2 separate regions of the Homo sapiens genome follow, and region 2 is linked to region 1. Evidence: promoter capture Hi-C in human tissues and cell types (Jung and others, 2019). All regions are on one chromosome and are shown on one strand. The core of a region is centred on a gene start or on the middle of the fragment in contact, and the rest is flanking DNA. Distances in the headings are between cores, read along the strand shown.

Region 1 (6,063 bases), core at 2,351-4,850:
AAGCTGAGATGGACTGAAAGTTCAGTATCAAAAGCCTGATTTTGAAAACTCAGGACAAAGAACAGAATGTAAAATTTCATTAACTTTGTACTAGTGATCATATGTTGAAATATTTTGGATATGCTTTTTATTTTTATTTTTTTATTAACTAGAGACGGGGGCCTCACTATGTTGCCCAGGCTGGTCTTGAACTCCTTGGGCTCAAGTGATCCTCCAGTCTTGGCCTCCCAAAGTACTGGGACCACAGGCGTAAGCCATTGCTCCTGGCCCAGATATACTGTTATTTTAAATATATTGAAATTAATTTCACCTGTTTCTTTTCTTTTTTAATTCTTTTGGGTTTTTTTTGTTTGTTTGTTTGTTTTGAGACAGAGTCTCACTCTATTGCCCAGGCTGGAGTGCAGTGGCATGATCTCGGCTCACTGCAACCTCCACCTCCCAGGTTCAAGCGTTTCTTATGCCTCAGCCTCCCAAGTAGCTGGGATTACAGGCTCATGCCACCACATCTGGCTAATTTTTGTATGTTTAGTAGAGACAGGGTTCCACCATGTTGGCCAGGCTGGTCTCAAACTCCTGGCCTCAAGTGATCCGCCTGCCCTGGCCTCCCAAAATGCTGGAATTACAGGTATGAGCCATGGTGCCTGGCCACCTGTTTCTTTTTCATGTGGCTCCTAGAACACTAAAAATTGCGTAGGTGGCCACGCACAGTGGCTCACACCTGTAATCCCAGCACTTTGGGAGGCCGAGGCGGGCAGATCACCTGAGGCTAGGAGTTCGAGACCAGCCTGACCAACATGGAGGAACCCTGTCTCTACTAAAAATACAAAATTCGCTGGGCGTGGTGGCGCATGCCTGTAATCCCAGCTACTCGGGAGGCTGAGGCAGGAGAATCGTTTGAACCCAGGAGGTGGAGGTTGCGGTGAGCCGAGATCACACCATTGCACTCCAGCCTGGGCAACAAGAGTGAAACTCTGTCTCAAAAACAAAAAAAATTGCATAGGTAGCTCACATTTGTAGCTCCAATTATATTTCTATTGGACAGTGTTTATGGATACATGCTCATGTTATTTTTAATTTTTAAATTTTTGTTCGTGTTATTTTTAATTTTTTATATTTTAACATTTTTTTGTAGAGACAGGGGTTTCCCTGCGTTGCCCAGACTGGTCTTGAACTCCTGGTCTCAAGTGATCCTCCCACCTCAGCTTCCTAAGTCGCTGGAATTACAGGCATAAGCCACTGTACCCTGCCTCCATGCTATTTTTTTAAATTGAGATATAATTCACAAACCACAAAATTCACCCTTTCAAAGTGTACGATTCAGCAGTTTTCAGTATATTCACAAATTTGTGCAACCAACACAACTATCTAACATCCAGAACATGTTCATTACACCAAAACGAAGCCCCATACCTTCCCATTAGTAGTCCCCACACATTTTTCCATGCTATTTTGAGTAAAGAAAAGCAAGTTGCAGGACAGTATTACAGCAGCAAGTGAGGTTTCATTTAAAACTAATATAGATGGGCCAGGCATGGTGGTACATGCCTATAATCCCAGCACTTTGGGAGGCTGAGGCCAAAGGATCTCTTGGGCCCAGGAATTCAAGACCCGCCTGGGCAACATAGTGAGATCTCGTCTCCACAAAATAACTTTGTTTTAAAAGTTAACCTGACATGGTGGTGCGCACCTGTGGTCCTGGCTATGCGGGAGGCTGAGGTGGGAGGATCACTTGAGCCCAGGAGGTTGAGGCTACATTGAGCTATGATTGTGTCACTGCACTCCAGCCTGGGTGACAAAGTGAAACCCTGTCAAAAAAAAAAAAATTAAAAACGTCTGTTCAAAAATTATTTTAAAAATATGTGGAGATGGCTGGGCGCTGTGGCTTACGCCTGTAATCCCAACACTTTGGGAGGCCGAGGAGGGTGGATCACGAGGTCAAGAGATAGAGATCATCCTGGCCAACATGGTGAAACCCCGTCTCTACTGAAAAATACAAAAATTAGCTGAGCATGGTGGCACACGCCTGTAGTCCCAGCTACTCGGGAGGCTGAGGCAGGAGAATTCCTTGAACCTGGGAGGCGGAGGTTGCAGTGAGCTGAGATCATGCCAATGCACTCCAGCCTGGTGACAGAGCAAGACTCCATCTCAAAAAAAAAAAAAAAAAAAAAAAAAATATATATATATATATATATATATATATATATATATGGAGAAAAAGAAAAAGAAAAAAGAGAAAACTCATATATATGTATATATATATATATGGAAAGATATTTTATGGTTTTTTTTTTTGAGAGGGAGTTTTGCTCTTGTTGCCCAGGCTGGAATGCAATGGCTGATCTCAGCTCACTGCAGCCTCCGCCTCCCAGGTTCAAGCGATCCTCCTGCCTCAGCCTCCCAAGTAGCTGGGATTACACACCCGGCTAATTTTTGTATTTTTAGTAGAGACGGGGTTTCACCATGTTGGTCAGGCTGGTCTCGAGCTCCTGACCTCAGGTGATCCACCCGTCTCGGCCTCCCAGTAGTGCTGGGATTACAAGCGTGAGCCACCAGGCCTGGCGAGATAGATTTTTTTTTAAATGTCTCACTCTGTCGCCCAGGCTGGAGTGCAGTGGCATGATCAAGCCTCACTGCAGCCTCACTCTTCCCCGTCCCCTATCCCCATCCCAAGCAATCCTCCTGCCTCAGCCTCCCAGAATGCTGGGACCACTGGCATGAGCCAATACTCTGCCTAGGCAGATACAGATATCTACATTTGTAAATGCATTTTAAATGTCCGGAATGATTTATACCAAACAGTTAATGCTGGTTTTCTAAGAAAACTAGAATTGGGGTGGGAGAGAAAAGAGAAAGGGGTGCATAGCCTTTATGTTAAATACTCCTGTACTGCTTTTGTGGTTTAAAAAGAGAATGGGTTGAATTTCTGACCGTAAATAACTCCTAGTGAACTCAGACAAATAACTTTTTCACAACAGCGTCGACAGATGCCTCCAGCCGGAAGGTAGAGGGTCTCGTTTTAGATCTGCTTTTCACTTGGTGCTTTTAAAATAGAAAGCGCAGACAGAGGCGTGGTGTTTTCGCTCCGAGCTGCAGCAGCGCAGCGCGGCCCGCACAGCCGCAGCCTGAGGCGCCGCTCGGCCCGGGCACCGCTCGGAGGTAGCCGGGGCAGCAGAGGTCCCGGGGTCCGCCTCTCCCAGGGCCGGCCTGGCAAAGGGCGGCGCCTGAGGACCCGGCGGATGCTGGGGGACCCGGGTGGGGAGGGAAAGCGAGCCTGGGCCTCCGGGGCCCGGTGTCGCCCGGAGGAGCGAGCAGGGACGACCCGCTGCACATCTCTGCGTGGCGCCCCGCAGCCACCCTTCAGGAAGGGGGGAATCCCCGGGCCCCCCACTCCGGGAGCGAGAGGATGCTCCGGGGAAGCCGAGGGTCCGGAGCCCGGACCCCTAACCGCGAGAACCCTCTCCTCCAACTCCACAGCCCCGTCCCCTACCTCGGCCCCAGGCTCGGGGGTCAGGAAGAGCGCGAGCTCGCGCGCCCCGCTGCGCATGGGCTCCGGCTGATCAGCGTCCACGAGCAGCATCAGGAGGGCGACGGGGTCCGGCTGGCGGAGGCTGCCTGGGAGCCCGTGGTTGCGCCCGGGCCTCGGAGCCCCGCCCCCGGTCCGCTGCATGCCCCGCGGACCGCCTGGCGGAGGCGGGGCAGGTGCGCTCCCGGCGGTCGCGGCTCGCAGCTCCAGGAGCGCCGGGCCGAGCGGGCAGCGCCACCCAGTGGCGAGCGGCGCGCGCTGCGCCCGCCCCCGCAGCACCTGGGCATCAGTGCTTTGCAAACTCGCTTGCAGATGGCAGTCACCTGGAGCTCTTTTAGAATTTCCCAAGCCTGGACCACACCGTCTCTGGGTTAAGACCTGGGCATCAGGATCTTTTGATGTTTGTTAGGTGGTTCCAACCAGATTGTTGACCCAAAGCTAAATTTGAGAACTATTGGGGCAAGCCACCCCTCCCCATCGGAATCCCGGTAGAGTACAGGCTCCCGGCCCCGGACCCGGCCGTAAAATAGAATCCCCGGGAAGCTTTTAAAAGCCCGGAAGCCAGGCCTCGCACCAGGCCGATTAAGTTGGAATCCTTCGGAGTGGGGCTTGGGCATCGGTAGTTTCTAAAACTCCCCGGGTGATTCTAACGGGCGTCCGGGTTAGAGAGGCGCTAGCTTAGAGGAAGCCCAAAGCCGCCCGCCCCCCACCCGTTCCCATCCTACTAAAGCATCTAGTTTGCATCGGGCGGAGGGTCCTGGAATTTAGGGAAGGCCGAGTGTGACGGTCCTCGTCTTCCTCTTCGGTGCGGATTTTAAAATAAACTTCACCAGGAAACTATTGAGCGCACTACATTTCACAACCGCACCCACTCCCTCCATGCCCTCGGAGGCCGGCCTAGATAGACCCTTTACAAGCCTTGGGGCTGAAGAGAGCGAGGTGCGCCTCATCTCCCACCCCAACAGTGCTAATGAGGAAAGTACTAAAAGGCAAATAGGTATAAGACAAGTCTGAAGTTTTGATTTTTCGTTTGATGACTTATTTTTATTTTTAATTAATTAATTTTTTTTTTTTGGAGACGGAGTCTCGCTCTGTCGCCCAGGCTGGAGTGCAGTGGTGCGATTTCGGCTCACTGTAACTTCCACATTCCGGGTTCAAGCAATTCTCCCCCTCCCTCAGCCTCCCGAGTAGCTGGGATTACAGGCGCCTGTCACCACGCCCGACTAATTCTAATTTTTGTATTTTTTAGTAGAGACGGGGTTTCGCCATGTTGGCCAGGCTGCTCTCGAACTCCTGACCTCAGGTGAGCCACCTGCCTCGGCCTCCCAAAGTGCTAGGATTACAGGCGTGGGCCAGCGCCCCCTGCCTGCTGACTTTTCTTTAAATGTTAAATCGCCTCACAAAAAAAAAAAAAAAAAAAGGCTGAGCTGCTTGGGCAAACATAAGGAGACTCCATCTCTCTAAAAGAAAAAAAAAAATTAAAATTGCAGGATGTGGTGGGGCACAACTGTAGTCCTAGCTACTGGAGAGGCAGATGCAGGAGGATTGTTTGAGGCCAGGAGTTCAAGGCTACCGCGAGTTATGATCGCACCACTGCACTCCAGCCTGTGTGACACAGTGAAACTCTGTCTTTTGTTGTTGTTGTTGTTTTTTAAAAAGGAGGGGCTGGTATCAAGGGTGCAAATAAATATATAGGACGTCCCACACCTTCCTCTCCATTAAATCTGAATTTATATTGTAGTTGGCCACCCTAGGTAGGGGCCTAAACAACACATGTTTGACCTGCCTTTTGTGTAGTCCATCACTGCACAATTCCCACTTCCAAATCTGTCCACTGCTAATTTCTCCCTATCCAAATATCCAGGCCTTCAGGCCAGTCATTTTCTGGAAAATTCTTGGCAAAGACTTGGGCCTCAAGTGCTTAAGGGTTTTATAGGAACTCACTGAGCCCACACTCGGCCATTCGTCATTGTCATGATTTCCCTGATGCTCTGAGCCCTCCTCGCCATCCCCTGGGAGCCGGTCTCAGACCCTTGCCCTTGCCTGCTGGCTAGGCATCTCCCACAAAGAGCCCAGGACTGGCCTCAGATCACCAAATTGACCTGAGCACAGCAAACTTCTCCTGGTGGATAAATCTCAGAAACATAAAGCTAAGGAAGAAAAGTCGTGTTGCAGAAGGCTCTGTAGGGCACTGTGCCATTAGCACAGTTTTTAAAACACGCAGAACCACACTGTATATTGTTTATGGACACCGACAGATGGAGCAAAAGTACAAAGCTGTGCATGGGAACGACGTACCCCATGTTCCAAAAGTGGTTACTTTAGGGCGGGGGAGAAGAAACTGGAGAGGGGTATGGGAGGGAGGGATTTCTTTTTCTTTTCTTTCTTTCTTTCTTTTTTTTGTTTTTTGACAGAGTCTTGCTTTGTTGCCCAGGCTGGAGTGCAGTGGCACAATCTCGGCTCACTGCAAGCTCTGCCTCCCGGGTTCAAGCGATTCTCCTACCTCAGCCTCCCCAGTAGCTGGGATTACAGGAACAAGC
Region 2 (6,063 bases), core at 1,070-3,569, 600 kb after region 1:
ACTCGGGCTCAGCAGGACCAAGACCTGAACCCCCTCCTCCTACAGTCACAGGCCTGCCTACCTAGTCCCCAAACACAGGGCAGGGGTCACAGACCTCCCAGCCCTTCCAAACCCAAGCCTGACACTCGGGACCAGCCAGAGGCTCCGGAATCTCTTCTCAAGCAGGGTTCCCAGCCACCCGTCCCGGCGCCTAGGGGCTCTGAGTCAGCCTGAATGCCTGACCCATTACTCTTCTCCCCTTTCCCCCGGGGCTGGAACCCCATCTCAAGCAGACCCTGTGTGTGTGGGAGGGGGAGTAGCAGAGGAGGCAGAAAAACCAGCTGCAACACCCCCACCCAACCACCAAAACCTCCAAAAATAACAGCAGCCCCCCACACACAACCCCCTACACACCAGAAACGCAAAAACAAAATCCTACAAATCCAAAATAAAGTAAAAAAATAAAAAACAAAAGCCAATTACTGCCCCCAAAAGGCTTTGTAACCATTCTCAAAAAAAAGTTTATTAAAAGTGTTCTTAATGCTTGAAACGGAAAAGATTCCCAAAATATACAGACGCCTCTTTTCTCATAGAAATAGATTATTTTTTATAATACAAAAAAAGACCAAAAAACAAAACAAAACAAAACATCAACAGCAACAAGCCCGTAGGAACATCTTTAAGCGATTACTCAGGGCCCGGCTGACAGTTACACGTGGGTTGCGTCAGTCCCGTGTACACACGCGTTCAGCCATGTTTAAACCGATTGCATCAACTTCGAAACCGGCCCGCCCGCCGGCGCCTGGAGAGGGGCAGAGGGAGAAGCAGAGAGTTTATCATTCATCTGTACACATAGACGTTTCTTCTTTAAATAACACCACGGGCGGGAGCCCCATCTGCATGTGCGGTTGGTTTGGACAAAAATATAGATATATATATATAATAAAATATTAAAATTACCGACGGGCTCCCCGCGCTGCCAAGTGCCCCAGTGCCAAAGTTTTGCCGGCGCCGCCGGGGGCGGGGGCGAGGGCGCGGGCGCGGGCGCTCCCCGGAGTCTCAGCCCCGGCCGGCAGGGGGACGCGCGCGGGGGCCGCGCTAGCAGTGGCCGGAGGAGGCGAGCAGGGGCTCGGGCAGCTGCTTGAACAAGTTCCGCAGGGTGCTGAGCTCGCGCGACAGCTGCTCCACCTTCTTCTGCAGCCGCTCGTTCTCGGCCGTGAGCTCCAGGACCTTGTGCTGCGTCTCCAGGTTGCGCATCTTGGCCTTGTCGCGGCTCTTGCGCACGGCGATGTTGTTGCGCTCGCGCCGGATCTTGTACTCGTCGCTGTGCTTGTCCACGGTCTTCTTGGCCTTGCTCTTGACCTGCGAGGGCGCCGGCGCGGCCCCCGCGTAGCAGGCGGTCGGGGGCGCCTTGGCGTCAGCGGGGCTCGGCGTGCCGGGCGGGCTGGACGAGGAGGACGTGGAGAGGCTCCCGCTGCTGCCGCTCGGCACCGCCTGGTAGCCGAGGTAAGCGCGCAGCGCGTACGGGAAGCCCGCCGCCATGCCTGCGCCGCCGCCCGGCGCCCCGGCCTCCTCCTTCCGCTTGCAGTCCGCGGGCTCGAAGCCCGGCTCCGCCTTGAGCTCGGCGGGCGGCGGCGGCGGCGGGGGCGGTGGGTGCAGGGGCGCGAAGCAGCCGGGGTGCAGCGCGCCCTTGGCGGCCCCCAGGCGCCCCAGGCTCACGTAGCCGTACTCGGCCGGCTTCTTGCAGTTCTTGCCCCCGTAGTCGTCGGAGAAGAGGTCGGAGAGGAAGTCGTGGTGCTGCCCGGAGGAGGCGGGCGCGGGGGCGGGCGCGGGCGGAGCCGCCTCGAAGGTGTCCGTGGCCGTGGCGGGCGCCGGGGCCTGCGGCGCGCCCAGCGGCTCCAGGTACGGGCTGAAGTCGATGGCGCGCTCGTGGTCGCCGATGCTGCCCAGCTCGCCGGCGGGGGGGCGCGGCCCGGGTCTGGCCGCGGGGGGCGCCGCGGGGGCCGCCTTGCCGCCGTACGCAGCAGCCAAGCAGTCCGCCTCGTAGTAGAAGTTGGCCACTTCCATGGATTTAAAGGCAGGCGGCGGCGGCGGCAGGGGGAGACATGCTGGGTCCCAGGCCACCAGGCGTTGCATGAACGCGGGTGCCCGGGGAGGGGGCCTGGGGCTGCCCGCTCCGGCCGGCCCGCAGGTGGCGCGGCCTCCCTGCTCTGAGCTGTCGCCGCTGCGTCGCTGCTGCTGCTGCCGCCGCTGCCGGGGTGGCCGCTATTAGTGAGGGGGCTGGTGGCTGGACCCTCGGGTGGGTCCCCTTCCCAGTCCCGTGCGCGGCTCTGACTCGCTAAAGTTTCTCCTGAGCCCGGTTATTTATAAGGGCGGCCCGTAGCAACCGCTGCGTCACGCCGGCCCCTCCCGCCGCGCCGCCGGGACGCGAAGGACACGGCCGCGGCCGCCCGAGACCCCCGGGAGGACGGCGGCAGGGCGCAGCGGAGGGACCGGGCACCCGGAGCGCGTTTTCGGGGGGCCCCCGGGACGCAGGGGCGGCCTCACGCCCCCTGCCCACCCCCGCCCGGCCGCCCCGGGATTGGGAGCGAGAGGGGGCGGTGCGACCCCGCCCCCGGACCGCCCCTCTGGGCTGGAGGCTGTCCTGGAAGGCGGGGGAATCGGAGGAGGGGGCGACCTGATCGCCTTCCCCCCGAGACGCGGCCCCGGCCCGCCCCCTGCTGGAGGAGGCGGAGGTTTCAGGAGGGCCGAGCAGAGCCCCGACGGCCGACCAGGGTCGGCTCCCCGGGCCGAACCCTGGAGACCCCAGCCCGCAGCTCTAGCTCCAGGAGAAGCGACCCATCTCCGTGGCCCTTCCTCCCGTAAACTCCCACCTCCTCCCCAGGTCCCCGGCTTTAGAAAGAAGACTTGACGCCTGTGACGACTCCCCTCTTAAGCCACAGACAATATGAGGACCCCGGGGGTCGGCGCGACCGGGCAGGATCGCGCCCCGCTTGGGGCTGGACCCTGGTCCACGGAGCCCCGCCCCTAGCCCCGCCCACCACACCTGCCGCCTGCTCGAGGCTTGGACACGCCCGGGTCTTCTCTTGCCCCGCGCTGCGCCACCCGACCTGGGCCCTGGGATGGGGCAGGGGCGGGGGGTGCTCGGCCCTGCCACACTGTGTGACCTTGGGTGAGTCACTTCACTTCTCCCAGCTGCAATCCATGAAGGGTGTCGCTACTGTCAGTGGTGGTGGCATTGTTCCCACCAGACTCCCAAACCTAAGGCTTACGTTGTGGGCTGCACATCAGAGAGAACGGGACCCCCACGGATTGTGCCAGTGGAGGCCCAGAGAGAGCATGGCGTGGCATACCAAGGTCACATGGCCGCATGTCCCCCATTCATCCCAAATGAAATGCCCTCATCTGAGCCCTAAGACCTATTGCCAGTCCCAGAGGCCAAAAACTTCTGTTTCTGAAGTTGCTAGGGAGGGACTTAAGCGAGGCCTCACGGGAGGGGGTGGTATGCAGGAAAGAGAAGGAAAGAGAAAGATAAGTTTTTACCAAGTCCCTGCCCTGTGCTTACGGTGGGCCTGCACCCCGAGGTTCAACTTTTTTCACCCCACCAGGAAGATGCTTTTGCTGCTGCCATTTCACAGACGGGAAAGCGACAACGGCCCGCCTGGACTTGAACACAGGCCCAAGGCCTTCTGACCACTTGCCCGCCTCTGCTGGGTAGGCTCAGGTTAGAGGGCCCTTTGCCCTCCCGGACCCATTCCTAGGCCATTGGGGCAGCTCCCTGGGCCCACCTCTCTGCCACTCCTAGCCCAGGCCACCTAGGCAGGAGCTCCCAGCCTGCCCGGGGCTGATCCCCAGCCCACTGACCCCAGCCCTGGCCCCAGCGGGCAGGCGGGCATTGCTCAACCTTTGGTGTTATCTGCTGAGCTGGGGTGACCTCCGCCCCCAAGAGCTGGAGAAATGACATCTCTGGGCACCCTTGGTGGGTAGGAGGCAGGGAGGGAGGGGATAAAACACTGGCCCAGCCTGCTGGCTTTCTGGGTCTTCCCAGCAGCCTCTGGGTTGGGGAGGGATCAAGGCCCAGAGGGGTGCGGCAGCTTCCCTAGGGCCACCCGGCCAGCCCTTCCTCACTGCAAAATGGGACACTCAGGGCTGAGCTAGAGGCCACGGCTTCTGAGAGGCCCTCCCTGTCCCACCTGCTAGTGAATTTCCTTCCCTATCGCCAGCCACCATTATCCTAGCTGTCTACCTCAGTCTCCCTGCAGGCTGCCACTTGGGGAGGGCTGGCCCACGAGGGACTCCTGAGCACAGCACGCTCAACATTTACCAGTGAAGGAATGCATTTGCTGTTCCCTGTGCACCAAGAACACTGTCACCCCACCTCTGCCCAAGGCAGCTCCTCAGGTCTCAGCCCAAAAGCTGCCTCCTCCGGGAAACCCTCCCTGACCTTCCCATGGGAAGTCTAGGCCCTCAGTCACTCCTCTCACACCCCTGCTTCATTTCCGTCACCATTCTCATTATAATCAGAATTATCTTGCCTGCCAGTCTTGCTGTCTGTCCCCACGGCCTTCACTACTGTGTCCCTGGTGCCTAGAACAGAGCCTGGTACATAGAAGGTGCTCGATGAATGGTGAGTGAATAAATGGAGGAGGCTGAGAAGAAGGAGAGGTTCCTCGTTAGCTGGGCTGTGTGACCTTAGGCAAAATGGCTCCCCTCTCTGAACCAAAGCACTCGCCCACGTTCCCTTTCTGGATTCTGAAGAGATGCAGGGAGATATGGGGGAACTGAAGCTAATTGGAGGATTTGCTGTGTGTTCTTAGGCCAAACTTCCACCTTCTCTGAACCACATTCCAAGCTCTTTGCATGTATTAACTCATTTAATCCTACTGATAATTTGTAGGAGGCAGGTCTTTTTTCTTCTTCTTTTTTCATATTTTTCAATGTTTTGTAGAGATGGATATGTCTCACTCTGTTGCTCAGGCTTTTCTCGAACGCCTGGCCTCAAGTGGCCCTCTTGCCTCAGCCTCCCAAAGTGCTGAGATTACAGGTGTGAGCCGCTGCGCCAGGCCACAGTCTTATCATTATCTCCACTTTATAGATGAGGAAACTGAGGCCCAGAAGAGCTAAGTGTGTCTGCTCCAGGTCACATGAAAGGATGAGAAGGAATAAAATCTTTCCAGTCTGACTTTCCCTCTTGGGTTTGTCATAACAGGCCTGGCAATGTGAGTCCCATCTTCTGGATAGAAGAACTGAGGCACAGAGAAGGGTAGACCTGGGGTCACACAGTGCGTTAAGGTGTTACTCGGACCTTGCAGGCCAGCCCCCAAAGACCAGACTCAGCCCCAGCAGGGGTCTAGGCCCTCTGGCCTCTGGGGTGGAACATGCTTGCCACCCTTCCCCACCCTCCACCCCCTGCTGGGGATGACCCATCCCTTCTCAGCGCAGGTCCCACCCCGGTGCCGACCCAGGTGTCCTGCAGGGAAGCTGCAAGCTAGGATGACGTAAGCCCTTGTTTTTACAAGGCTCTTGCTCAACAGGCCCCGCCTGCTGCTCCCCCACCCCCACCCCAGTACTGTTCAGCCTTTCCCCAAGAAGTGGGGATGGTGGGAGCTTGAACCACCACGGCCCAGAGGCCCAGAGTACGTGAGTGGCTGTGTGGGCACAGGAAACCAGGATCCCCCTGGCGCCACCTCTCCCAGTCACCTGCCCTCAGAACCTAGAGCCGGAAAGGATCTCAAACTGGCAGCCAGTGGCCAAATCGAGACCACAGATGTGTTCAATTTGACCCCATAGCGTTTTGCTTGATGTGTGTGTGTTTAAGTGAATTTATTGCCAACATTTAAAAATCAGGAGATTTCACATCAAAATTCAAATTTCCAGCTCCTCTTTTAAAACCTGAAGCTGTGGGCTGGGCCCACGTGGCCACATGGTGGTGGGCAGGAGCCAGGCGGGGGCGGGGAGGGAACAGGCACTTTCCTACCTGGGACACACGTCCTCCTCTGCCCCCAAACTGCTTTTCACAATTCCTCCTCCCCATCTCTGCAGCTTTTCCCTATCCCATTTTCAAGAGGAGAAAACTGAGGCGAT

The links. The method cuts DNA at HindIII sites, captures the fragments that hold promoters and counts their contacts. A contact is called where the count stands out against the background at its distance.
Region 2: the fragment with the promoter of CEBPB here is called in contact with the fragment with the promoter of BCAS4 in region 1 in 1 of the 25 tissues and cell types used here (IMR-90 fibroblasts).

The regions. Positions count from the first base shown.
Region 1 is chr20:50,792,598-50,798,660 of GRCh38, reverse strand. BCAS4 (breast carcinoma amplified sequence 4) reads right to left here and starts at 3,600. Exons shown (of 5, transcript NM_198799.4): 1 at 3,488-3,600. The coding sequence starts at 3,577. RefSeq lists a silencer at 3,048-3,867. The HindIII fragment of the contact is 12,365 bases long and covers 1-6,063 here.
Region 2 is chr20:50,187,086-50,193,148 of GRCh38, reverse strand. CEBPB (CCAAT enhancer binding protein beta) reads right to left here and starts at 2,319. Exons shown (of 1, transcript NM_005194.4): 1 at 481-2,319. The coding sequence starts at 2,115. The coding sequence ends at 1,078. It overlaps CEBPB-AS1 (CEBPB antisense RNA 1), which reads left to right and starts at 1,080. Exons shown (of 7, transcript NR_125739.1): 1 at 1,080-1,485; 2 at 1,727-1,881; 3 at 2,864-3,151; 4 at 3,588-3,693; 5 at 4,522-4,606; 6 at 6,022-6,063. RefSeq lists silencers at 977-1,086, 1,507-1,946, 2,087-2,296, 2,123-2,417, 2,377-2,786. The HindIII fragment of the contact is 25,644 bases long and covers 1-6,063 here.